Linked DNA regions of Homo sapiens: all the other regions are linked to region 3. Evidence: promoter capture Hi-C in 16 types of primary human blood cells and fetal thymus (Javierre and others, 2016). All regions are on one chromosome and are shown on one strand. Each heading gives the region's core, a stretch centred on a gene start or on the middle of the fragment in contact. The rest is flanking DNA. Distances are from core to core; before and after follow the strand shown.

The links. The method cuts DNA at HindIII sites, captures the fragments that hold promoters and counts their contacts. A CHiCAGO score of 5 or more calls a contact.
Region 1: a contact is called between a fragment that was not itself captured here and the fragment with the promoter of LYPD6B in region 3, in 1 of 17 cell types (M0 macrophages). The highest score is 5.2, in M0 macrophages.
Region 2: a fragment that was not itself captured here is called in contact with the fragment with the promoter of LYPD6B in region 3 in 1 of 17 cell types (M1 macrophages); the score reaches 5.1 in M1 macrophages.

The regions. Positions count from the first base shown.
Region 1 is chr2:149,276,310-149,280,710 of GRCh38, reverse strand. No RefSeq gene overlaps it. Among named protein-coding and RNA genes, the nearest start is that of MIR9899, 52 kb to the left of the region's middle. The HindIII fragment of the contact is 918 bases long and covers 809-1,726 here.
Region 2 is chr2:149,260,672-149,264,812 of GRCh38, reverse strand. No RefSeq gene overlaps it. Among named protein-coding and RNA genes, the nearest start is that of MIR9899, 68 kb to the left of the region's middle. The HindIII fragment of the contact is 1,590 bases long and covers 1,103-2,692 here.
Region 3 is chr2:149,035,766-149,040,468 of GRCh38, reverse strand. It overlaps LYPD6B (LY6/PLAUR domain containing 6B), which reads right to left and starts at 1,770. Exons shown (of 7, transcript NM_177964.5): 1 at 1,668-1,770. RefSeq lists enhancers at 1,278-1,337, 1,378-1,427, 2,641-2,700 and silencers at 1,508-1,667, 1,678-2,017. The HindIII fragment of the contact is 3,848 bases long and covers 1-2,475 here.

The DNA.
Region 1 (4,401 bases), core at 18-2,517, 240 kb before region 3:
CTGGGTTTGGGTCACTGTGTGGGCAGTCTTTCCCCGGAGGTGGGTCTTCACACAAGGAAATAGCTCTGCTCTGGGGCCTCCCAAAACTTCTACTTTGGCCACTAGTCCTTAAAATTAAGATGCCAGAGAGCTCATTTTTAAGAAAAATGTGAACATAAGCAAGGCAAAGAACCCAAGTGATATAACAATAATGGAAAAAAGATTGTTTCTTTCAAGATAGCTGATAAAATTAGCAGAAATGAAGGTTTTTGTTTTTGTTTTTTGTTTGGAATGTAGTGTGTTTTTGTTTTTGTTTGTTGTTTTGGGTTGTGTTTTAGCTTTATCCACATAATTGCTTCTGATCTACCTGGTCTTGGTGGTGATACACTAGATGTCAGGGCCCTTCTTAGGGTCCTGAAAGATCTCGTTAGAACCCAAGGTTGGGCTGCGTGCGGTGGCTCACGCCTATAATCCCAGCACATTTGGGAGGCCGAGGCGGGCTGATTACCTGAGGTCAGGAGTTCAAGACCAGCCTGGCCAACATAGTGAAACCCCGTCTCTACTAAAAATATCAAAAATTAGCCAGGCGTGGTGGCACGTGCCTGTAATCACAGCTATTCTGGAGGCTGAGGTAGGAGAATCTCTTGAACCCGGGAGGCGGAGGTTGCAGTAAGCCAAGATCATGCCACTGCATTCCTGTCTGGATGATAGCAGGAGATTCCATCTCAAAAACAAACAAACAAACAACAACAACAACAAAAAAAAAAAAACCAGCGTTGTTACAGGAGCAGCTAACTTGATTCTGATCAAGGCCACCATTCCCTAAGCTTTCCTGGCTTAGAAGGAGTGATTAACAGCACTTTAGAGACCAATAGTAAGAACGAGAGATTTTATTTTCACTGCAATTTCCCACATGACATTTGAAGGCGCAATTGCTCTGAGAAGTTGAATAATGAGGAAACTGAGTCAAAGTTAAAGAATTACTTGCCAGTTGAAGAACTATTTCTCTATCAGAGAAACAGATAGAGCCACCTCTCCCAGGTGCAATAGAGCCTGCTTGTCAATAGAAGTGATTGGGATGAGCCAGCCACGAAGACGCCCACTGTTCTTCAGTGAAACTGACTCTCAGCAAGCACCTGAAAATAATCATGTTTTTGCATCTCTCTCTGATTCACCGGTGTCTTCCTTTGTCATGGATTTCTACTTCATTTCCACTTTATACTTTTTTTATGTGCAATATCAAACTGCTTTCAAGTACTTACAGAATTCTTGATGTGATATCTGGAAGATTTGAATTTTAAAATTTTCCCATTCCCAAGCCCTAATGTTCACGCTATCTTCTTCCCAGTATAACTGAATCAGATGAAAAGAGAAAACTAGGATTCAAATACCCATATTGTAGGCAGACTACAGAAACATCTGTCTATAACAAGAATTTCTGATATAACAAAATATTTTATATGCTTTCTCCCCAATTATTGCACATTGTGTTAATTTTTTTTAAATCAGAAATATTTAATATTTAAGTGAATTGTTAAACATGCAATGCTGGCATACTTGCTGCTGAGTACAAAAGCAATTTTAACACACCATTCAGTTGATTAAGTCATGTGTACACAAGATCACACATGACATACATTCCTTCAAAGTTGCCTTAAGCACAGGGCCTACAACTACCTTCCTAGACAGTAGGATCAGAAGCCTATAATTTCTTCCAAAATCTTCTGTGGCTCTTTAAATGAAAGCTTTAGACAGAATACAAATTAAGCTACATGCAGAAAGAGGCATTTAAAAAAAAGAAGTTGAGGAGCTACCCTAATATTAGTTTACCATTCTTGTTTTAAAGAAATCTATTGTGTGATTTTATAATTAATTAAAGAAAAGGAAAATTACTCATTTCAGAAAAGTAAAGTTAGATCATTTGTGTCTTCATGTTTTTAATGACTCATAGGCAGGGTTTTTTTTTAATGAGTGTTCTCTTTGTTTTTTGAAATAAATATTATCTGTTCTAAATGTAATGCTTTATTTTCAATTAATCCAAGACCTGAGAGCATTAATTATCTTAGCAGCAAGTGAAACTAAAACACTGATTACAGACATTTAAACTTTGACCCTAAGAAATAGTTACTCTTCAACGTGATTCATTTTATTTTTTTCTCCAGAGGTCTAATCTTTCAACCCTTCCCAGACAACCTATAATTCTGTTCCTTTGCCCTCTCTGAAATTACCCAAGTGCTGTCTGCCTTCAGGGGAGATTTACGGTCCTAATAGTAGAAGTGGTGAAGGTCAGCTGAAAGTTTCAGGTCTGTCTACCCAGGAACAAGGAATTCCTAAATAATTTCAGCAGTCCTAAAAATAATGATTGGTTTCAGCAACTCGATGACAGATAAACTACTACCCCATTTGGCAAAAGAGTTTGTTTCTCCACTGAGAAGAATTCATTTGCTGAGTTTCTCTGTATAATGACGATAACTGTGGGCAGAGTCAACGTGACTGACCGTGTAACATCATAAACAAGCCATTAAACCACAACCGCATCTCCTGGAGTTTGTGGGGTGATTTTCATTGCTCCCTTTTAAGTGCACACAGTGATGGTTCTCATGTCAGATATTTCACTTGCTTTCCTTAGGGCTGTGTAAGGCACTGTTTTATCATCCATCATGAAATCTCTTCAGACCTGGCTTCCCAACTTCTCTTAAAAGTTGTATGAGGTGGTTTCAACTAAACTCTTTTGAGGGTTTGGTCTTGAACTAGGTTAATGTCCATAAACTTTGTGAGCTAGAAGTTGACTCTGATTGTTAAAGTCAATTTTCTCTTACCTGGGAGGGGTTTACCTGTGGCTCCCCATGACTTCCTACCCTGCCTGTGGGTCAGTGCATGAAACGTTAAAAGATTAGATGGTGGGGGGATGAGAAGTGAAGGTACCAGAGGTTGGTGTAAGTGCCTGTAGCTCAACGTCCTTCACATGGCATGACGAAGGCAGATATTGAGAGCCACTCATTTGGTGTTCACTAAGCCCATTTATGATTAACTCCTCAGCACCTTCCATATTCTTCCCTTACTAATTGCATGCTTAAATTCTAAAAGCAAACCTTGTCACAGGCGTGGCACCACATTTGTGAACAACTCCACAAGTATTTGTCTAAACAGTGATTCTCTTAATCAATTTTTCAGTCTCATGTGGACAAAAAGTAGAAAAAGAAACATACCAATAGCATAAAGCAAGAATCTGGAAATATCAGAGAGTTGAGTTCCCAAGACTTGGTTTAAACATGTAGGTGGCATCATAAAAAAAAATTATTTAAATAATAGAGAACTACAGTTTTTTTTCTACTCCATACCATCTCCTTTCAGTTTTAATTTCTAGAATTAGGATTATTCAAAAAACACCAAATGAGACACCAAGCACATACTGTTGATGATCTCTGCTCTCAAAGAACATTCAATTGTACTATTTTCCATAAAATCTTCACAAATCATTATCTTCCATTCCTTGGCCCTCATCTGCCTTTCTCAGAGGGTAACATTGACTTCCTCCCTTGATGTATACAACATCAGGGATCACATCTCAGACTTAAAATGTCTTCCAGGAATTGTTCCTTCTTAAATTTCTTTACTGTCTTCACCATTCCTATTATGTTCTGCTTCTGTAGTTTCCTACAGACTTCCCGTAGTCATTTAGTGTTGCTCCTTTTTTTTTCCAAGCTGGATTCATGTACAAATTAAATGACACAAACTATACGTATATGCATGAGCTGTTTGGCTTATTTTTGTCCTGACTTTAAGGTAAAACTCATTCAGTTTTAACAACTAATTATTTTATATCATTGTGCTGGTATGTATACCCCCAGAATACATACAGAAGAAAAGTTATTGGTTTCCTAAATATTAGGCCATTACCTCACTAATTGCTATTCTTGTTTAGAGCTACTTATGCAGGCTTGAAGGTCATAATTTAGCCTGGATTCCTTAAATAAGTTTCTGCCTTATTTTTACTCCTTTATTTAAACTTGCTTTGTCCCTTTTTTCATCCTTCAGTTTGATTATTAATCACTTGTCCTTGTTTTCTACCAAACTTAGATTAAATTTCTTAATAAAAATCTCCCAAATAATAAATCAGCATTTCCTATGCAGCAAAAGACACAATTATTCACGTTGTGCTGAGGATTTGCCATCTATCCACAATAACATCTGCTTCAAAAACAAAGTCAGACATATGACTTTTGTAGATTTTTATATTTTTGTTTCTGGCTTTCTCAGATGCTCTGGATTTATTGCCCCATTACTATGATTTGGTCCCTTCTTCATCTTTGTATTGTTGACCCTTCCATCTATTCACTGATACAACTACTTTCCTTCAAAAATGGAAATAAATCTGCCCAAACTTGGGATGGAATTATAATTTATTCTTTCAGTTGACTT
Region 2 (4,141 bases), core at 648-3,147, 220 kb before region 3:
ACACCAAACATTGTCTTCCATGTCGTTGCTGCACAGATAAGGATGTGGAGGCAGTTCAGTGGAGTGGTCAAACAGCAGGGCCTACACTATTCTAGAGTCATGGCTACCTCATTTTGAATCCAGGCTCCCAATTTGCAATCTGAGCTCCTATTCTCCCTGAGCCTTACCTTAACTGTAATATAGGGATACTATTATTAACTACCTTCTAAATTTCCTATGAACATTTAATGAGATCATGTTTATAAAGCACTTAGCGTATTAACTGATAACATAGGAACTACTCAACTATTGGCTATTATCCTTGTTACGGGCAAAGAACCTTAATTCTCTACCTTCTGAATAAAAAACATGCTAAGATATCACAGGATGATTTAGGTTGCCTTTATGTGGAGATTTATGTGGCATCTTGGGAAAAGTGTAGTACCTGGGATCAGGAGATCTTATCCTAGTCTCGACTCTGCCTCTAACCACATGACCATTTTGGGCCTCAGTGTCCCCATCTGTTAAAGTTGTTGAACTATTTATTGCTATATACCCTTTTCAGTCCAATGTTACGCCCTAGAGAAATGCAAAAGAACAGAAAAATCAGGGTCTTTAAATATGGTTGTATCTACAGCATGTAATAATTAGGTCTTTGATCTATAAGTTGAAGTGTTTAAAGCCTAAAAGAAAGTATGTATTAGTTTGCCAAATAGCAGGAATTATATCAATCTGTTGTAACACTGACTATGTCACATCAGTCAGAAGCTCCAATTAGCAGTTAAACATCTTTGATTAATGTTTCAAAATTAATAAAAAGAGTTCATTTATTGTGTTATGAGATATGGAGAGCTCTTTAGTGGTGAAATGTTTGTGAACCATTAGCCTGTGTGCTTAGCATTGATGAAGATATCCCAGCCACTAACAGTTTTATAAGAAAGCAGAAGTTGATGCTAATTTACAATGCAGAGCACATAGCAATAGTAATAATGAAAAATACCCAATAGTGTTGACCATTTATAGTGAGGCCACAACTGTCTAAATATCTTGTGTAGATTACCTCCTTTAATCCTCGCAACAACCTCCTTAGTATTTCCATTTCACAAATAAGAAAACTGAAGCTTGAAATTCAGCTGGAATGTCCATAACACAAAGAAATGATGAATGCTTGTGTGATGAATACCTCATTTACCCTGATGTGATTATTACACATCGTATGCCTGTATCAAAATATCTACCTACTCCCAAAATATATATATACCTACTATGTACCCATAAAAAATACTTTTTAAGAAACCTGAAACTTAAGAGTGGGACCTATTGTCATCTAAACAGATGAATCTCCAAAACTACAGTGTTTCAAGACTCAAGAAATCTACAAAAAACAGTTTAAAAACATGTACATTAAATGTACCTTTTTTTCAGGCAAAATATTGATAATATGCATATGAAATAGCTCTTACTGTTGAAGTCCCAATTTTTAGGGGGACCAGGGATGGTAAAATACATAAATAACATATTGTTGTCATTTAGAAAAATTAACTGGATTACCCCCTTAAGAATTATTACTGGGACATTTTTAGTCTACTCTTGATGTTTTCTTGCTATTCAGCACCCTGTACATTTGTAAATTCACAAAATTAGTGTGAAAGTGCAAAAATAAAAACATGAACTTTAGTATTAACCCAAACAAAATGTAATTAAGGAAGTAAATCTACACCAGAAAAAAGAAAGCCGTATAATGTTTTGCAACGTCCAAGAAAAATGGCTTTTGGATTATCTGCTATTAGGAAGTATTTTGCTCATGTTCCCTTCTCTTTACTCATTTATATATTCATTCCATAATTGTAGGGAATCTGCCAAATATGCAGGAATATGACCCTGAATTAAGGCAGATCATGGAAAACTGACGATGCTGAATTGATGTTGAACAACTGTTATCATGATTAACCCGAAGTTTCTTCTAGAAGTGTCCTTTTATCTCCAAATACAGCTGCAAAAAGTGAAAAAGAGAAAAGTCAACATTGGCCACAATTAGGGCTTTATCTTTTGGTCAGAGGGTTGAAGGTGGATTTACAGATAAATCTTTCACAACTGATTTCAATTATACCTCTGAGTCTCACCCACCATTGGTGTCATCCTAATATCCCCCAAAACACAGAGGTCACTTTGAAAGTGCTTTAAACTCTCTCTCAATTACCAGGCTTACTTGCTGTTTCTTTGAAAATGACTTTCATGTGAAAATGCTCCAGCAACATAAAAGTTAATCACCCTGTATCATTACTCGCATCTAGCAGCAGGGTAAAAAGGAAATTAAATTCTTCTTCATTCTCTCCTACAAAATGTATTAGAACCTCACTCAATCTTCTCCATATTATGTGTAAAAATGGAGCACAATCCAATGCTTCTCTTTTTTACTTTTCTTTTTTTTTTTCAGAAAGCAAAAGTAAAACACAGAGAATGTTCTCAAATTTTCATACTTGGAGAGGAATTCCAGCAAGAGTTGCATTTCTGCTAGAGGTGTATTGTGAAGGTGTGGAAATACAAGTTAATGAAAGGTTAGTTCTCTAGCAAACAAGATGTGACTTATTTACGTCTTCAACATAAACCATGGAAAGCTACATAATAAGTCTGTTATCCTGGATATTTTATTGTCAGTGTTCAGCAAATCCTTTATGTTCATTTTTAAATAATGAGGCCAAATCCCCAAGCTTCCTTCTATTTCAAACTTTTTCGTAGACTGGCCTGAGTATGAAATAGAAACCTTGTGCTTTACTAACTCCGGGGTGCTCAGCTTGAGCCCTATGAATAAAATATGACTCTGATCATTAAAATGTAATAAAAGCTGGTACTTTGAAGCCTTAACCTAAACAAGCTTGCTCTCTGATCTTGGGGGCAAACTTCAGCTGTTCTCTCAGCAGGGCCTCCTCTGCAGAAAGCCCAGGCCTCCTAGAAACCACTGCAACCTGCTAATCTGTGACCTGCACAGCTAAACACAGTCAGAGGCATTTCCACAGTGAGGTCTCCCAGTGTCTCTCAGTGTCTCACCGTTTTCGGGCTACCACAGCCTTCTCAATTTCCTGCCAGAAAGAACAGTGCATGAGGCAGGTGTCAGGCTCAGTTTGTAGAGAGGCTAAGTTTGTAGTTTAGTGTCCCTCATTTTTATCTTCCCAAAAATCCCCTTCCAGAAGAACAGAACAAGGTGAGTTTTCAAACAGCTCATTCTCTAAGGGAAGGCTGGGCAAATGTTCATGAAGATTGGCCAATAGGATTAAGAGAGAAGGCCGTCAAGTAAATAACAAAGAAATGGTGCAATGTGATCCAACTGTGCTCTTGGAATTTCCTTTTTATTGGTGCTAATATAACCCACTCAATAGTGGGTGGGAAATATCCCCAAACTACTGCTGTTGCTGCTGCTGCCAGGATTCACCAGAAAGGATGTTGAACGCCCAGAGAAAGCTGTCCTAAGGCTTGTGCTCCCATGCTGCAGGGAAAAGGCCAATTGTAGCTCACATCCCAGAAGAAAGTCACTTCTGTTCAAAAGAACATAGTTCAAGATTTCTCTCCCATTATCACAGCATGGACAGAAAACAGAACTACTTGACTAGGGAAAAAATATTTCATTGAAGAAAAAGGAAGCAGTAAGGAAATAAATAACCCAGGTGCTTCTCAGAGAAAGGATAAAATATCTTAGCAAAACTAGCAATTAAACTCTTAAAGTAAATTTGGGGCATCAAGTAAAAAAAGTGATAACTTCTGGGAAAAAAATACATAAATAAAAAACTGAGAGTGTAAATTTAAGATCCCAAACATCCTAGTACTAGGGAGTTGTGACTATATGAAAGTGCTGGGGTTTGAGTCTACTGAAATACTAATAACTGTAAGTTTTTACTCATAATACACAGCTAGCAGCAGAGGGAAAAGGTAACTGGTGGCCAAGCACCCCCTCACCCCCCGCCCCACACCCCCCACACACTAAGCCATATCTGAATTTGGTATGGGGTTTTCAAGGCATACCGACAACCTGTGATCCAACTCTTAATGTATGCTTATCCCAGATTTGGAACTCTGTTGAGCAAATTTCTGTTTAAGAGTTTTGATCAATAGCTTGAATCTTTTAAAGAGATCAAATCACCACATAAGATGGGGTCAAGTTGTTGTT
Region 3 (4,703 bases), core at 521-3,020:
AGATCACTTGAGGTTAGGAGTTCGAGACCAGCCTGGCCAACATGGTGAAACCTCATCTCCACTAAAAATACAAAAATTAGTCCCACGTGGTGGCCGGCGCCTGTAACTCCAGCTACTTGGGAGGCTGAGGCAGGATAATCGCTTGGACCTGGGAGGTGGAGGTTGCATGCAGTGAGCCGAGATCACACCACTGCACTCCAGCCTGGGTGACAGAGTGAGAGTCTGTCTCAAAAGAAAAAAAAAAAAAGAGAGAGAGAGAGAGAGACAGAGAGAGACTGCTATACGGATAGAGAAGATGGGATTCTCTCTCTCCCTCTTTGTCTCTGTCTCTCTCTCTGAAGGAGCAGATAAGCCTGAAGGTGCAAGTCCTATTTATCGTCCATACTAAGAACCAGTAAACACAGAGAGAAAAACAGCTAAGATATACAAGAGAGAGAACTAGCCCTGGAACCTTGTATGAGCCTCTGGAACTAGCTATAGCTTTAAACTGAAACCCTCGACCTTTTCATTTATGTGACCCAATCAATTTCTACATAGTATAAGGCAATTTTCAAGTGACCAAAACCCAACCCAAAGAAAACAATTCTGACAAATACGATGGGTAATGATGAGGGCAGTCTGACAACACCCCCTCCATCTGCAGGGCCCGTGCACTGGCAGCCCTAATCTTGGCCTCTGTGATGCTGTCAGCAAGTAAGGCATCCTGGAGGAAGCCTAACCATGAACAAGTCAGGGTGGGAAAGAATGCCCCCACCCCACAACACACACATCACCACATCAACACAAAGGGGGAAAAATCAAGCAGTATGCTATGTACTCCATGAACATCATATAACCTAAGTCTGTTGTAATGATTATAATATTAATAATACCTATTTTACTTTAAGGGAACTGAGGCTCAGAGCAGTTCAGTAACTTGCCCAAGGTCACACAGCTAGTTACTGGAATTTAAATAGCATTCTAGACTTTTCCCACTCTCTGATCCCCTGGCCTTGGGAGGTGGACAGCACCCCTCCACCCACCAGCTCCCCCCAAACGCCACAGGGCATACAGACCTGAAGCCTCACAACCCAAGCCCCCTGGAGTCAGAGCAGCCTCCAGACCCGGCTTTTGAGAAGCCCCAGGTAACTAACCAATGTGTAAGGTAGGTTATTCAACAACAAAAGTAAAGAGCCGGGGCAAGGGAAGCGGCGGCACCCAAGCTGGTCGCGCGTGAAGCGCTGCAGGGGGAAACACTGGAGCTGGCACGCTCGCTCTTGGCCCCACGATCGGCCTTGAACCCCAGCCCCAGCTCCGCGCTCTCTCCAGCAGTTTGACCCCCAGTATCTCCTCTCCCCTCGGCTCTGCCGAAGTCACTGGCCCCGCAGGGCTCTGGACGATTAGAGACCCACACCGCTCCAGCCTTGCCCCGGCCCCCTGCTCCCGTCCCGTCCAGATGTTGGCAGCTGCTCGCCTCGAGGCAGCGACCAGACCCCGACCCCGCCACTGCGCCGCGGCCCCGCGGCCCCGCGGCCCCGCGGCCCCGCGAGCTCCTGGCTGCCCCAGCGCGCCCAGAAGGGGCGCAGCGCATCTCCCGCCGCAGTCGCGCGGCCCCGCACTCGCTCCGGCGCGGGGTGAGCCGTCCCGAACCCACCACCGCCCCCGCCTGCTGCGCTGGCCCAGCTCACCTCGCCGCCCGCGCCCACCGAGCCTCTCGGCGCCCTCACCCGGCTCCCGGCCCAGGCTCCCAGCGCACCCGCCTGGGGCCGGCGTTGGCTGCTACCGCGCGGGGCGGGGCGCGGCTCCTCCCTGCCCTGAACCACCTGGGGCGCGGGAGGGGGCCGGGCCGGGACAGGTGAGCCTCGCCCGCGAGGGAGCAGCCCCGGGCCCGGCTCCGCTGGGAAACCGCAGGGCTCCACCACGAGGTTGAAAGGAGGCCCAGGCGGGCGGCAGTGTGGTAGTGGCCAGCGCTGGGGAGGCGGCAAGGAGCCTGTTCCCACCCAGCCAGCCCGGCTCAGGAAGTGAAAGAAGCACGGGATTCGGACCCCACCCAGCTTAAAGAGGGGAGGGTCCAACCCCTTTCTTCCTAGAAAACCAATGTAGAAACGAGGAGTGCAGACCCTCGGGAGTGAAAATGATTGGGCCAAGGGTGCAGGTGAGTTAGTTCAGGATTGGAAGAACTCTGAAAGACCTTTTTTGACCATTCCATCCAACCCCGTCCCCACCTTGCCCACCCGTCAAGTGATTCCCTCCCCCTTTTTAAATAATGACATTAAGCTATAAATAAGATAATTTCATATAGTGACGTCCTCCCCACCCCTGGACGGTAAGCCCCAGGAGAGGCAGGAACCTTACCCGTCCACTACTGAATCACCAGAGCTTTGAAAACTCAGGGCATTTAATACCTGATGAACAGACTAGGTGGCGCCCAGTCTTTTGCGTCCAGCGTTAGACTGGTCCCCTCGGCCCAGAGCTGCTCCAGCATCATTCCAAGCTTACTAGGGAGAATCCAGAGGCAAGCTGTTAGATTCCGGGCCACCTGTCCTCTCTCTACTGCTTACTCCCCACCCACTGCCAGCCAGGCAGCTGGGATGTGGGAGGTCTACACTCCCAGGGCACCTTATAGTGGTCAAGCAAATCTTTAACTTCTGAAGATGCCACAGACAGGAGAACTCTGAAATAAAACACTGTCCGGCCAGCCTTGCACTGTGGAAACACAGCTCAGAGTATGGGCCACTGACCCAAGATTCCATGGCTGGTAGCAAAGCTGATCCTGGGTCTGCATTTCTAAAGACAGTTGGCTGGTCTGGGGCCTTTGAGGGGCTGCTGGTTATGCCTGCAGTGGGGAAACCTGGGTACAGAACTTCTGCAGAAGTGGGGTCTGGGTTTGGTCCTCTGCTGAGACTTCTAATCTGTCTTTCCAGACCTCTGAGGTCAAGCATCTCCTGAGCCAGCTTGCATTTATTGAGGCCCCTGACAACCGCAAAAACAAAAACAATGGTATTTTTAGGTGTTCCATTTAACAAATGGCCTTCACTCACACACACACACACACACACACACACACACACACACACACACGAGGTAATGTGTCATGCTGCTCCTCACATGTTAATTTCAAGACTCGTTAAAAAAATCCATTCCGTGAAAAAATTCATTTCACTGCAGAAAGCACTGTACAACTTTAAAGTTGTATGGAGAACATTCCTTCTTATGACTATTTCAGTACACTTCCGTGACTATATATTAAACCTCCAAGGCCAAAATGGGAGGATCTCTATTAAGGTGAGGTCAGGGCCAAGAAGACTGCTCCACCCCTCCACTGACAACAAGCCCAACACTCTTAAGGTCTAGACACCCCACCCCTTCAGTGGGTTCTGCACATATGGGTATTTCAGATCTGGTGTTACCTGGCTGGCTACGTCACACTGGGCAAGGCCAACCTAGAAAAGGTTATATGGGATGCCCCACCTAGGTGTGCCCTACCTCAGTTGCTACTCCCTCTATGGTGGCAGGGAATCTGGTGTCCCAGGGTGGAGCTGTGGTGGGGCCTGCACTTTGGGACAGCCACTTGCACCAGCAGGTAGGGCTGAGCAAAGGAGCACCTCTGGGTCTCACTCACATGAAATGGACCTAGACCTTTTTTTGTGTTGGTTTCAGTCAGTAGAGCATGTGATCCCCTGTGATTTAAAATCCTGCTGCTGTGCGTGTGATCTTGGCTGGGCCAGCCTGCTAAGTGATGCCACCCAGACAGGCCTGAGAATCATCAGGAGGGTACAGGTTCTGCCCCAGTGCTTGCTTGCTTGCACGTGATCTCTCCCTCCCCACCCCACTCTCTCTCCTGTGCTTGCTGAGCAGCCTTGGGCATGTTCCTCAATTGTGTGTTTTTCCTACTTGGAAAATGTGCAGCCATGAAATCAGACAAGATCTCTGTTTGAAGTTTTTTGCTTAAAAGGGGTATCTGAAATAAGAAGTTCTGATACTGTTGTGTGGCTAAGTTAAATAATCCACGTAAAGTGCTTGAGCACAGCGCCAGCACAAAGCACCTGCTCAGTGAACAGTAGCTCTGCCTAGCAGTGCAAAGAGAGCCAGCCCACTTCTGATCAACATTAAAATGCTGGAAATAGGGACAAAACCACTGATAGACTTCATAAGACTCTAGAATGAATTAATTAATCTTTACAAATAACTATTTATTGCTATTCTCTACTGGTCTCTAGGAGAATGATATTTGAACTAGAAAATCTTCAGTTTCTGCTCTATCTCTAGTTCTCTGATAATATAATGAAATATAAATTATCCAAAGAAGCAACAATCCAAAAAACTTCTGAGCCTTAGGATATATTTACCTTCCTAATTTTTCCTGTCTTTACTTAGGACTCAACATGTATATTAATAATGTATATCTAGCCGGGCGTGGTGACGGGCACCTGTAATCCCAGTTACTTGGGAGGCTGAGGCAGGAGAATTGCTTGAACCCAGGAGGCAGAGGTTGCAGTGAGCCGAGATCCTGCCATTGCACTCCAGCCTGGACCACAACAGTGAAACTCCATCTCAAAAAAAATAAAATAAAATAAAAAATACTGTATATCATTTTCTGAGGACATTTTTCAATGAGACAATGTGTGTAGCATTCCTGGCACATAGTAGTGTAGCAGGACGAGTCGCAGAGAAAACTCCTCAGACACCAGATTAAAGAAGGAAGAGTTTTTTTTATTTGGCCA